Regions from separate parts of the Homo sapiens genome. Here region 2 is linked to region 1. Evidence: promoter capture Hi-C in 16 types of primary human blood cells and fetal thymus (Javierre and others, 2016). All regions are on one chromosome and are shown on one strand. The core of a region is centred on a gene start or on the middle of the fragment in contact, and the rest is flanking DNA. Distances in the headings are between cores, read along the strand shown. Region 1 holds the start of MYOD1 (myogenic differentiation 1). Region 2 overlaps OTOG (otogelin).

Region 1 (6,618 bases), core at 3,026-5,525:
TTCCTCTGGCCCCTCCCCATGGGCACCTGCAGTTCCACAAAGGCAGTTTTCTTTCTCTCACCCCTGGATCTTTGCACCTGCTGTTTCCTCAGCTTGTAGCCCCTTTCTTTGGCCCCTCTTTCCTGACCAACTCCTTCAAGATTCTCATTAAAGTTTACCTGTTTGTCTATATCTCCCCCAGAATAGTTAGGGAACCTTCCCCTTTGCTTCTATGGCGTTCCCCTGCTACATGCACCTCCAGTACAGTACTTAATTCAACAGGATGTAACCAGCTGCTAAAAGGTTCCATCCTAGTCAAATGTTTGTGTGCTTCCCAAGGGCGGGAACTGCATCCAACAGTCTCTGTTTTCACCCAGCATAAGACCTGGCATCTGTGGAATCAATGAATTCATGAATGGACCCCAGGGGGTCTCAAGGGTATAAAGAATCCCAAGGGACATGTGGGGAAGTGGCCAGAAGACAAGTGGAGGATCATTCGTAACACAACAGCTCTGGGCAGCTTCCTAGGCACCCTGTGTTGGGGAGAGCAGAGAATGGATCCTCAGACAGGTAATGAGGATATTCGGATATTCCTTCTGGCATCACATCTTGCCTGCATTCCTGAGGGCCCCCTACTTGGCAAACAAAACCCTTGAAAGTGGGCCTGTAGGGTTTTCAGGAACAACATATATGGGGTGGGATGTAGGAGGTCCTGAGGTCCTCATGGCACGCGTGTGTTGGGGGTGGGGAGGTGGTAAGTGAGTGGGGAAGAACCCTTGCCAGACCATCCCTCAGGGGCCTTGGACCCAGGGGAGGGCACAGGTACCTGTGTGTGTGTGTGTGCGTGTGTGTGTGTGTGCATTGTGAGTACATTGTCTACTCTTGTTTCTTAAGACAGAGCTCAAATGACAACTCTTCCGGGAAGCCCTCCCCAACACTCAGGCTAAATAAATGCCCCCTCCTCTGCTCTCAGAGAGTTTATAGCCTGATGAAGAGTACCTATGCCATCTGTGATGATGCTGGCCCACATGCCGCTCTGCTCACAGGATCCGGGCTCCTGTTGTCTTATGGAATCTGATAGTGTCGGGATGCTCTAGGTGCTGGGTAGAGGTGTCTGTGCCTGTCTGGCCTTCTATGCTATCTCTTTGCAGTTACACCTATTACTAATGGGCTGTAAGTGCCAGAGAGCTTACAGCACATGTCTACACTCATTTAGATCTTCCTCGGAATGCTGTGGGCACCCTATCACATCCTCTATACCCAACGAGGCCCCCAAGTGATGCCTGGGCCACAACCTTCCCGTGGTTCTTCTGGTTATCACACCTGGGTTCACTCACTTTATATGGAGGGGATGATTCTCAGCCTTGAATGAACTTCAGAATCACTTGGGGAGCTTTTGAAAAAAAATACCAATACCTGGCCCTGGGTATATGGGGCAGAAACATTAAATCAGAATATCTAGGGGGCGAGCTCAGACATGGGTTTAAAAAATACTCATATCAACCTGTGTACCCTTCCATAAGAGCCACGGACGTGTGTAGTAATGTAGTCAAGGTCAGAGGAACTTCCTCACGTACTGGAGAAATTTGCACCCCTCCTTCCTTCCCCAGGCAGCAGGCTTCCTCCTTGCAATCCGCCTGCCGCCTACAGGCGTCGCTGAGGGACAGCTGGCCCAGTTTGCGGATTTTCCTCCGGATCCCACACCCATGTCCAGGGAAAGCCGGAGCCACGGCGGTATAAATTAGCGCCTTTATTTTGATCACCTGAGCGAGCGCCCGCGGCTCGCCCGCCTGCGGTATAAACGTACAAATTCCCTGTAGCACCACACACCATGCCTCAGAGATAAATACAGCCCCAGGGGCTCCTGCTCTGGCAAAGCAACTCTTATTTACAGGAATAGATTACAAAAGTATTACAAAAAGTGGTCCTGAACCGGGAAACGGGTTGGGGGTGGGTTACGGTTACACCTGCTACATTTGGGACCGGAGTGCACTGGGTCTCACGCCCCCCCAAATAACCGGTGCATCCCGGGGCAGGGCTTAGGTCTGCGAGGGTCTCACCCCCATGGGGGAGGGCGCGAGAAAGCTGAACCTAGCCCCTCAAGGTTCAGCTCTGGCCCACCGAGGAACACGGAGCGGCCATCGCAATGGGTCTCCGAGAAGGGTGCTGCGTGGAAAAAACCGCGCTGTGTCCTTGCCCTGTGGGGCGGGGGCGGAAACTTCAGTTCTCCCGCCTCTCCTACCTCAAGAGAGGTCGCTTTTAAAGCGCTGTTGGGAGGGGGGCATTTAAGTTCAATCTTTTGGGCGCGAGGGACCCTAGGGGCACCATCCCTCGGGCGGGTGGGCGGCCACCATCCCCTCAGAGCACCTGGTATATCGGGTTGGGGTTCGCACCCGCAGGGCACTGCGGGGCGGCGTCCGGTGACTGGGTGGGGTCGCCGCTGCTCTCTCCCTCGCTGGGGGCGGCAGCCTCTTGCCTGCGCGGAGGCGACTCAGAAGGCACGTCCGCCAGCAGGAGGGCGGGCGCCGCAGGGCTCTCGGTGGAGATGCGCTCCACGATGCTGGACAGGCAGTCTAGGCTCGACACCGCCGCACTCTTCCCGGGCCTGGGTTCTGCGCGGGGAGGGCTCGGTTAGTAAGCAGGGGTGGGGCCGCGACAAGCCTCCCACCCCCGGGCCCAGTACTTTGAGACAGATTGGAAACTGAGGACTTTAGTTAGAGTCCGGGACAATCCAAAAGACAGGGAGCTACTTGCTTAGTATTTCATCTCCTGCACCACTTCCCAGGACATAGGCGTGTGTGAGTGGGGGTGGGAGCGTCCTAGATAGAGGCCAGGACAGCTCCATGAAGGAGGAGGAGCGAGCAGGGAGAGGCCCGGAATACCCACCGCTGGGCGCCTCGTTGTAGTAGGCGCCTTCGTAGCAGTTCCGCCGCCGGGCGCCGCTCGGGGGGCCGCTGTAGTCCATCTGCAAACAGCAAGGGCGACTGAGTCAGGCCCGCGGGACGGCTCGAGGCCCGAACACCAATTCCTGTAGCCGCCCCCTCCCTAACTCTAGCCTAAGGCTCTAGTTCCGGGCCCAGACCTGTCCTGGTTGGGGGGGTAATTACGGGTGGGTAGGAGATGAGGTCTGCAACATGCAGGGCCAAACCAAGGGCGGACAGTCACCAAGGGGCGCAAATTTACATTTTGGAAGTAGGGATAAGTAGAGAAAAAGATCTTCACGTTCGCGCTGCAGTGTTCTAATAGCGCCCCCAATGGGGCAGCTCGAACGCTTGCCCGCACACTTCCAAAACAGGCTACCCCAGTGACAGCTGCCCAGGACAAGGGGGTCCTCTCTCTCGGGAAGGATCCTGGCCCAAACCTCCCGCAAGGCCAGCTCCCCGCCCTCGGAAACGCGTCCCTGATATCCCGAGCGCCGCCCTAACTTCCTCACTTCCTGGGGTCCCGGCCTTACCATGCCGTCGGAGCAGTTGGAGCGCGGGCTGGACGCGTCGGAGTCGCCGCTGTAGTGCTCGCCGCCGCGGCCCGGGGGCAGCGGGCCCGGCGCATAGAAGGCGGCTGCGGCGCCAGGGGGCGCGGCGTCCTGGTCGCGCAGCAGAGCCTGCAGGCCCTCGATATAGCGGATGGCGTTGCGCAGGATCTCCACCTTGGGCAACCGCTGGTTTGGATTGCTCGACGTGCAGCGCTTGAGTGTCTCAAAGGCCTCATTTACTTTGCTCAGGCGGCGCCGCTCGCGCATGGTGGCGGCCTTGCGGCGGTCGGCGTTGGTGGTCTTGCGCTTGCACGCCTTGCAGGCCCACAGTAGGCAGCGGCCCGCCTGGTGGTGCCCGCTGGGCGCGCGCACATGCTCGTCCTCACGTGCGCCCGGGGCCGGGTGCACCGCCGCGGGGAAGTGCGAGTGCTCTTCGGGTTTCAGGAGCGCGCCCACGTGCATCAGGCGCGGGTCCAGGTCTTCGAAGAAGCGCAGGTCCGGGGAGTCGAAACACGGGTCGTCATAGAAGTCGTCCGTTGTGGCAAAGGAGCAGAGAGAGCCGTCGGGGGCCGTCAGGTCTACGTCGCGGAGCGGTGGCGACAGTAGCTCCATATCCTGGCGGTGGCGCGGCACGGTCCTGGCTTCGCCCAACCCAAGCGGCAGAGAGTGGCCGGAACTTTCTGCCGCTCGGGAGCCCCGGCTGTAGATAGCAAAGTGCTGGCAGTCTGAATGCCCACCCACTGTCCCCCACCCCTCCCTCTCCTGTCCGGCCTGATTTGTGGTTAAGGAAAGCGGCGGCAGCGCCCCAGGGCTTCCTCACCCCTAGCTTCTCGCCAGGCGCCCTGGGCTATTTATCCGTAGTAGCCTAAACGCCCCGGAGCCCAGGCGGGCAGCTGGGGGAGGGGGAGTCCGAGGCCAATAGGAACACTGCGGGGCGGGGCTTGGGGGGGTCCCCGGGGTGGCCGCAGGGGCCCGCAGACTGGCCAGCCAGCCCGCCCCTCCACACTGGCGTGCGCGCTAGGTCCCCTACCGGGCAGGGAGGGAGGGAGCGACCGGCAGCCCTAGGCGGCTGCACTTGGCTCTCCGGCACGCCCTTTCCAAACCTCTCCAACACCCGACTGCTGTATCCGCGGGAAACGCTGGCTGCGCGCGCTCACCTCTGAGCTGACTTTCAATACTCCTCTGTCCCCTGATTTGTGGGGGACCCATGGGTAGAGCGGCTGTAGAAATCAGGTCGTGAGAGATTTGGAGAGAGGCAAGGCATTGGGGGCACAGAGCTGAGGAGTGAGACCGTGAAAGAGGGACCGAAAGAGGCTGAGAGACACGCAGAAAGCAGAAAGCTTAGAGCGTCAGGGGCAGAGAAACGCACGAGTGCAACAACAGGCGGAGAGACCCCGAGAGTTGAAGTGGGCGAGCCCGAGACAAACGGGTCGTAGAGGCTCTGATATTCCGCCAGTCCCCGACCTGGGAGTTGCTCAGCAGGTCGTGGGCCCAGTCCTTCTTCCCTAGACGCTTAGAAACCCAGCTATGGTTGTACAGGAATCGGAGATTGCTGCTAAAGCTTCGCGCCAATCTCTCCAAACTCGGATCCTGCCCAGGTTAGGAATCCCCTCCATCTAAATCTGCACGTTTCCACAGCAGGGGTGTCCAGTGCCATGCCTGGGGTCTAGGCTGAGCTGCCTCTTCAGCTGGGAAGAAAACCCTTCTGCTCGGGGCTTGGCTCCGCCTCACTCGCGGTGCTGAGTCAAGGAAAGTGCATTTCGCCAAGGTGTCAAACTTCAGGACCTGGCCTGAGAACCTGACCTCATCTCACCTGAAGTCTCCGAGAGTGCGGTTTGCAGACCAGTTGAGTGCAGACTCCAGAGTTTCCCAACTGTGTGATTTTGTGGAAGTCATGTCTCCTTCCTGAGCCTCAGTTTCCAGTTATAGATTTGGGGATGACAGTAATTTCTTGGAGTAATTGTGGTGGGGATGACAGTCTGAAGAGACCAAGGATATGGAAGCCCTCAGGCGGTGATGTAGGGTTATTCGAGCAAGGGGCTTTCAGAGTTGGATGCTGTGTCCCGCAGGCTTACAACTCATCTGTGGTACCATGCCCTGACGGAGTGCCACGAGTCTCCAGGCCTTAGCTGTGTCTCTTTCCTGCAGCCTCACTGGAAAGGCTGGAAACAGGAGGAGGCAACCACCCCATGGGATGTGGGATATCTGGCTCCCATACAAGCCTCAGCATACCGGCCACCCCCATGGGGGTCTCTCAGCCTCTTCCTGAATCTGCAGTTCACACAGTCCTCTCAGCACTCTGGCTAGGAATCTCCGTTGGCCATACATCCCTGCCTGGATCTCCCCTCCTGGAAACCAGAAATTTAAGCAGGAGTGATCTTTGTGCCTTTCCCACTAACTTCTGGAAGGCATTCTAGCTGGCCGTTCTGGGCCCTAAGAAGTCCTCCCTTCCCACAAAACTCAGAGGGCTCTGTTGGGGTCCTAACTTCTTCACTTCTCTGCTGCTGGTAGTGGTGCTGAAGGTCTCCCTTCATGAAGTACTCACCTCGCTTTACTCCATAGGGCCCACCTGTATTTGTTCATTCAGTAAAGTCTACATCATGGAGCAGCAGTGACAGTAACTCTAAATCCTGGCAGAGGCAGCAAAGTCCTGGCCTCACCCCACCCAAGCTGCAGGGGGTCACCCGGAAATCCACATATTGTTAGGTATCCATTATGTGGCAGGTACCAGTCCAAGTGTGGGGCTAGAGCAATGAACAAAACCAAGACTCTGCTTACATGGCACTTACATTGTCAATGTAAGCAGGGTGATAGACAATGAACAAATAAGCAAGGAAGTATGTGATGCCAGGAGGTTAGAAGCCTTATGAAGAAAAAGCAAGGCAGGGAGACACAGTGATGAAGATTATGGAGTGATTAGAGAAGGCCTCTCTGCTACATTTAAGCAGAGACCTGAATGAAGAGAATTGGAAGCAGATACCTGGAGATATGTAGGGCCAGATAGAGGGATAAGCATGTGCAAAAGTCCTGAGGCAGGACCATGTTTGGCAGATTCAAAGTATGGCAAGGAGGCTCATATGTCTGCAGCAGGGTGAGTAAAAGAGATAGTGGGAAATGGGGTGAGAGAGAGAGAAACAGGATTATATTCTGAGATGGCTTGAGCCATC
Region 2 (6,989 bases), core at 4,411-6,910, 98 kb after region 1:
AAATTGGAATGGAAGAAGTTAAATTATCCTGTTTGCAGACGATATAATCTTATATTTGGAAAAAAACTAAAGATTCCACCAAAAAACTACTAGAACTGATTTTAAAATTCAGTAAAGTTGCAGATTACAAAATCAACATAGAAAAATCAGTAGCATTTCTATATGCCAACAGTGAACAATCTGAAAAATAAATTTAAAAAGTAATCCCATTTACAATAGCCACAAGTAAAATTAAATTATCTAAGAATTAACTTAACCAAAGAAGTGAAAGAGCTTTATGATGAAAATGATAAAACACTGCTGAAAGAAATTGAACAAGACACAAATGGAAAGATAGCCCATGCTCATGGATTAGAAGAATCAATGTTGTTAAAATGTACATATTACCCAAAGAAACCTACAGATTCAATGTAATCCCTATCAAAATATTAATGACATTCTTCACAGAAATAGAAAAAACAACCCTAAAATATACATGGAATTATAAAAGACCCAGAATAGCCAAAGCTATTCTGAGCAAAAAGGACAAAACTAGAAGAATTACATTACCTGACTTCAAATTATACTACAGAGTTATAGTAACCAAAGCAGCATGGTACTGGCGTAAAAATAGGCATATAGGCTGGGTGCAGTGGCTCATGCCTGTAATCCCAGCACTTTAGGAGGCCAAGGTGGGCAGATCACCTGAGGTCAGGAGTTTGAGACCAGCCTGGCCAACATGGTGAAACCCTGTCTCTTCTGAAAACACAAAAATTAGCCAGGTGTGATGGTGTACACCTGTAACCCCAGCTACTTGGCAAGCTGAGGCAGGAGAATCACTTGAACCTGGGAGACAGAGGTAGCAGTGAGCCAAGATCGTGCCACTGCACTCCAGCCTGGGCGACAGAGTGAGACTCTGTCTGAAAAACAAAAACAAACAAACAAAGAAACAGACATATAGACTAATGGAACAGAATAGAGAACCCAGAAACAAATTCATACACCTTCAGTGAACTCATTTTCGACAAAAGTGCCAAGAACATACATTGGGGAAAAGACAGTCTTTTCAATAAGTGGTGCTGGGGAAACTGGATATCTGTATGCAGAAGAATAAAACTAGACCCCTATCTCTCACCATATATGAGAATCAAATCAAAATGGATTAAAGACTTAAATCTAAGACCTCAAACTATAAAACCACTACAAGAAAGCACTGGGGAAACTCTCCAGGACATTGGTTTGGGCAAAAATTTCTTGAATAATACCCCAAAAGCACAGGCAACCAAAGCAAAATGGACAAATGGGATCACATCAAGTTAAAAAGCTTCTGCACAGCAAAGGAAACAATCGACAAAGTGAAGAGACAACCCATAGAATGGGAGAAAATATTTGCAAACCATACATCTGATGAGGGATTAATAATTAGAATATATAAGGACCTCAAACAACTCTATAGGAAAAAAATCTAATAATCTGATTTAAAAATGCACAAAAAATTTGAAATAGACATTTCTCAAAAGAAGACATGAACAGTGATGCAAAAATCCTCAATAAAATATTGGCAAACTGGATCCAGTGGCATATCAAAAAGCTTATTCACCACGATCAAGTAGGCTTTATCTCTGGGAGGCAATGTTGGTTCAACATATACAAATCAGTAAATATGATTCATCACATAAACAGAACTAAAGACAAAAACCAAGAATTATCTCAATAGGTGCAGAAAAGGCTTTTGGTAAAACTCAACACCGCTTCATATTTAAAACTCTCAATAAACTACGTGTTAAAGGAACATACCTCAAAATAATAAGAGCCGTCTATGACAAACCCACAGCCAACAACACTGAATGGACAAAACCTGGAAGCATTCCACTTGAAAACTGGCACAAGACAAGGATGCCCGCTCTCACCACTCCTATTCAACATAGTATTGGAAGTCCTGGCCAGAGCAATCAGGCAAGAGAAAGAAATAAAGGACCTCCAAATAGGGAGAGAGGAAGTCAAACTATCCCTGTTTGCAGACAACATGATCCTATATCTAGAAAACCCCATAGTTCCAACCCAAAAGCTCCTTCAGCTGATAAACAACTTCAGCAAAGTCTCAAGATACAAAATCAATGTATAGAAATCACTAGTATTCCTATATACCAACAATAGCTAAGCCGAGAGCCAAATCAGGAAGGCAATCTTATTCACAATTGCCACGAAAAGAATCCAATACCTAGGAATACAGCTAACCAGGGAGGTGAAAGATCTTTACAAGGAGAACTACAAAACACTGCTCAAATAAATCACAGATGACACAAACAAATGGAAAAACTGTCCATGCTCATTGATAGGGAGAATCAATATTGTTAAAATGGCCATACTGCCCAAAGCAATTGATAGATTCAATGCTCTTCCTATCAAACTACCAATGACATTCTTCACAGAACTAGAAAAAAAAACTATTTTAAAATTCATATGGAACCAAAAATGAGCCCGAATAGCCAAGGCAATCCTAAGCAAAAAGAACAAAGCTGGAGGCATCATGCTACTCAACTTCAAACTATACTTCACGGCTACAGTAACTAAAACAGCATAGTACTGGTACAAGAACAGGCACATAGACCAATGGAACAGAATACAGAGCCCAGAAATAAGGCCAGACACCTACAGCTGTCTGATCTTCTACAAAGTCACCAAAAACAAGCAATAGGTAAAGTACTCTCTATTCAATAGATGCTACTGGGATAAATGGCTAGCCATATGCAGAAGATTGAAATGGGACCCCTTCCTTACGCCATATACAAATATTAACTTAAGATAGATTAAAGACTTAAATGTAAGAGCCAAAACTATAAAAATCATGGAAGATAACCTAGGCAATACCATTCTGGACACAGAAACGGCAAAGATTTCATGGCAATGATACCAAAAGAAATTGCAACAAAAGCAAAAATTGACAAATGGGATCTAATTAAACTAAAGAGCTTCTACACAGCAAAAGAAACTATCAACAGAGTAAACAGATAACCTACAGAATGGGAAAAATTTTTGCAAACTATACATCTGACAAAGATCTTACATCCAGTATCTATAAGGAACTTAAACAAATTTATAAGAAAACAACAACAAACAAACTACCCCATTAAAAACTGGGCAAAGGACATGAACAGACACTTCTCAAGAGAAGACATACATTCAGCCAATAAGCATATGAAAAAAGCTCAACATCACTGATCATTAGAAAAATGCAAATCAAAACAGCAATGAGATACCATCTCACACCAGTCAGAATGGCTATTACTAAAAAGCCAAAAAATAACAGGTGCTAGCAAGGTTGTAGAGAAAAAGGAACACTTACACATTGTTGGTGAGAGTATAAATTAGTTCAACCATTGTGGAAAACAGTGTGATGATTCCTCAAAGACCTAAAAACACAACTACCATTTGACCCAGCAATCCCATTACTGGGTATATACCCAGAGGAATATAAATTATTCTATCATAAACACACCTGCACACATATATTCATGGTAGCACTACTCACAATAGCAAAGACATGGAATCAACCTAAATGTCCATCAATGGTAGACTGGATAAAGAAAATGTAGTATATACACACCATGGAATACTATGCAGCCATAAAAAAGAATGAGATCATGTCCTCTGCAGAAACATGGATGGAGATGGAGGCCATTATCCTTAGCAAACTAATGCAAAAACAGAAAACCAAATACTGCATGTTCTCACTGATAAGTGGGAGCTAAATGATGAGAGCACATGGACAGGTAGAGGGGAACAACAGATACTGGGGTGTACTGGAGGGTGTCAGGTGGGAGGAAAGAGAATATCAAAAAATAACTAATGAGTACTAGGCTTAATACCTGGGTGACAAAATAATCTGTACAACAAACTCCTGCGATATGAGTTTATCTATATAAGAAACCTGCACATGTACCCCTGAACTTAAAAGTTATAAAATAAAATAAAAAATAAGACATCCAAATGGCAAACAGGCATATGAAAATGTTCTTACATGGATCATCAGAGAAATGCAAATCAAAACTATAATGAGAAATCATCTCGCTCCACTTAAAATGGCTTTTATCCAAAAGACAGGAAATAACAAATGCTGGTGAGGATGTGGAGAAAAGGGAACCCTCACACTTTTGGTGGGAATGTAAATTAGTTCTCCACTATGGAGAACAGTTTGGAGGTTCCTCAAAACACTAAAAATAGAGCTACCATATGATCCAGCAATCTGGGTATACACCCAAAAGAAAGGAAATCCGTATATCGAAGTGATATCTGCACTCCCATGTTTGTTGCAGCACTGTTCACGATAGCTAAGATTTGGAAGCAATGTAAATGTCCATCAGCAGATGAATGGATAAAGAAAATGTGGTACTTATACACAATGGAGTACTATTCAGCCACAATAATATGAGATTCTGTCATTTACAAAAACATGGGTGAAAATGGAGGTCATTATGTTAAATGAAATAAGCAGGCACAGAAAGACAAACCTAACATGTTCTCACTCAAGTGTGGGATCTAAAAACCAAGACAATTGAACTCACGGACACAGGGGAAGGGTAGTGGAGGGGTTGAGGAAGAGATGGGAATGATTAATGAGTAAAAAGAAAAATTAAAAAGAATGAGTAAGACTTAGTGTTTGATAGCACAACAGGGTGACTACAGTCAATAGTAATTTAATTATACATTTAAAGATAAATAAATGAGTATATAATTAGATTGTTCGTAACACAAAGGATAAATGTTTGAGGGGAGGGATATCCCATTTTACGTGATGTGATTATTACACATTGAATGCCTGTGTCAAAATCTCTTATGTACCCCACAAATATATATACCTACTATCTACCCATAAAAATTAAAAATTAAAAAAGGATTAGACTGTTTTATGCAGCAAATTATGCAGCACATGAACTATTATGTAGAGGGAGCCTCAGCCCAGGAGTCACAAAGAAAACTTTGTGACCCTAGGAAAGCCCCTGGCTCTCCTAGCCTGAGCCTTCCTATTTGTACAGACAGAGGATTGGGCTTCATGATCCATGAGCAGTCTCTGAGTTCTGGGAGTAAACATACATACCTGAAGCCCAGAGAGGAGCCTCGCCTGCATTCATAGGACTCCATGCAAGGACAAAGAATAAAAGGTTAAAAACGAAGGACTTAGAATTCCATTTCTAACCAAGGTGGAGTAATAGGAACTGGATTTACCCTCTTGCCTTAAATGATCAAACAAACTGACAAAATATATAAAACAACAGTTTTCCAACGTGAACAGTTGGCAATGCAGGAGAGTGATCCCTGAAAACAAAAAATGGAAACAAATGAGGCAAGCCTTATGATTGTCCAAGGTTATTACTTAGAGAGTTTAGGGGCTGCAGTGCAGGGAGCAGGAACCCAGGTAGAGCCTGGTGGTTTCCTAGAGTTTAGAAGACAAGAGATAGACATTCACAAAGGCCAAGGTAGCTAGAGTTTGCATGGCAGACAGAGAGAGAGAGAGAGAGAGCTCTGAAGCTTTGCAGAATCCCCCTCCAACCCTGTCCTGACCCTGTCCTGAATTTTCAGCTGAATATTGATCAATGTATGCAGGTGAGAAAACTACCTGAGACTAGGGAAAGAACCACCTGAGAGAAACAGACAGAAAAATCCACAGAGCTAGCACAGGGCTGAGAATAGTAGAAAAACCTCCTAATATGTAGAGTATAGGGTAGGGTATGCAGAAGGGTGTTGCTTTAGTAGCAGGGAATTGGTATGTAGGATAAAGAATAAAATCACACTCAGAATAAAGGCTACTTTGGCTTTACCTAACAAAGCTTAAAGGCAAGCCTCAGAAGGATCAAACTGTTTCCAAGTAGCATAACTACTACAAAGCTCAAGAATATTTTCAAAAATAAAATGAAAGAATATCCAGCATCCAACAAGGCAAAACTCACAATGTCTGGAATTCAATTTAAAAACATTGTCAGGCATGCAAAGAAGCAGGAAAATACAACCTATAATGAAAGAAAAAATCAATCAGAACTGACTGAGAAATGACACACACGGTAGACAAGGAAATACAAACAATTATTTTTAAAATTGTTTTAACTATATGTGCTCAAGAAATAGAGGAAAACAGAAGAAGGTGAGATGTTCATGATATAAAAAGACCCAAATCAAACTTGTGCAGATGAAAAATATCATGTCTGAGATGAAAACCACTGAATGGAATTAATATGTTTAGACACTATAAATGAAAAGATTAATGAACTTAGAGCAATAAATACTATCTGAAATGAAGCACAGAATTAAAAAAGACCCAAGAGAATGATGAGCAGAGAGCATAAGTGATCTGTGGGTCCACTTCAAGTATCCTAAAACACATGTAATTGAAGTCCCCAAAAGAGAAATGAATTACCAGGCCTATCATAACCAAATTGCTTAAAAACAACTATAGAAGGAAAATCATAAAAGCAGCAAAAAGGGGTAGAAAAAAACTACATTATGTATGAAGGAACAAAGAATGACAGCAGATTTCTTACCAGAAATAAGCAAGATAAAAGATAGTGGAACTTCATAACAGCACTATTCAAAATAGCCAAAAATATGGAAATAGCTTAAATGCCCATCAATAATGAATGGATAAACAAACTGTGGTATATACATACAATGGAATATTATTCCAGCCATAAAAATAAATGAAGCATTGATACATGCTTCAATGTGGATGAACCCCCAAAACATGGAGCTCAGTAAAAGAAGCCAGACACAAAAGGTCAGATATTGTCTGACTCCACTTATATGAAATATTCAGAATAGGTAAATCCAGAGGCAACAGGCAGATTGGTAGTTGGCAGGGGCTGTGGGGAGAGGTGACTATGAAGAAACTGCTTAATGGGTATGGGGTTGCCTTTTGGGGTGATGAAAATGTTTTGGAGCTATACAGAGGCAATGGTTGCACAATATTGTGAATGTACTAAATGCCATTGAATTGTTCACTTTAAAATGCTTAATTT

What was found. Contacts are between HindIII fragments. The CHiCAGO score rates a contact against its expected background, and 5 or more counts as called.
Region 2: a fragment that was not itself captured here is called in contact with the fragment with the promoter of MYOD1 in region 1 in 1 of 17 cell types (endothelial precursors); the score reaches 5.2 in endothelial precursors.

Annotation. Positions count from the first base shown.
Region 1 is chr11:17,717,228-17,723,845 of GRCh38, reverse strand. MYOD1 (myogenic differentiation 1) reads right to left here and starts at 4,275. Exons shown (of 3, transcript NM_002478.5): 1 at 3,434-4,275; 2 at 2,866-2,944; 3 at 1,710-2,591. The coding sequence starts at 4,063. The coding sequence ends at 2,338. RefSeq lists enhancers at 2,303-2,814, 2,815-3,326. The HindIII fragment of the contact is 6,670 bases long and covers 1-4,793 here.
Region 2 is chr11:17,620,107-17,627,095 of GRCh38, reverse strand. The region is part of intron 39 of OTOG (otogelin); the gene reads right to left. Among named protein-coding and RNA genes, the nearest start is that of LINC02729, 73 kb to the left of the region's middle. The HindIII fragment of the contact is 299 bases long and covers 5,511-5,809 here.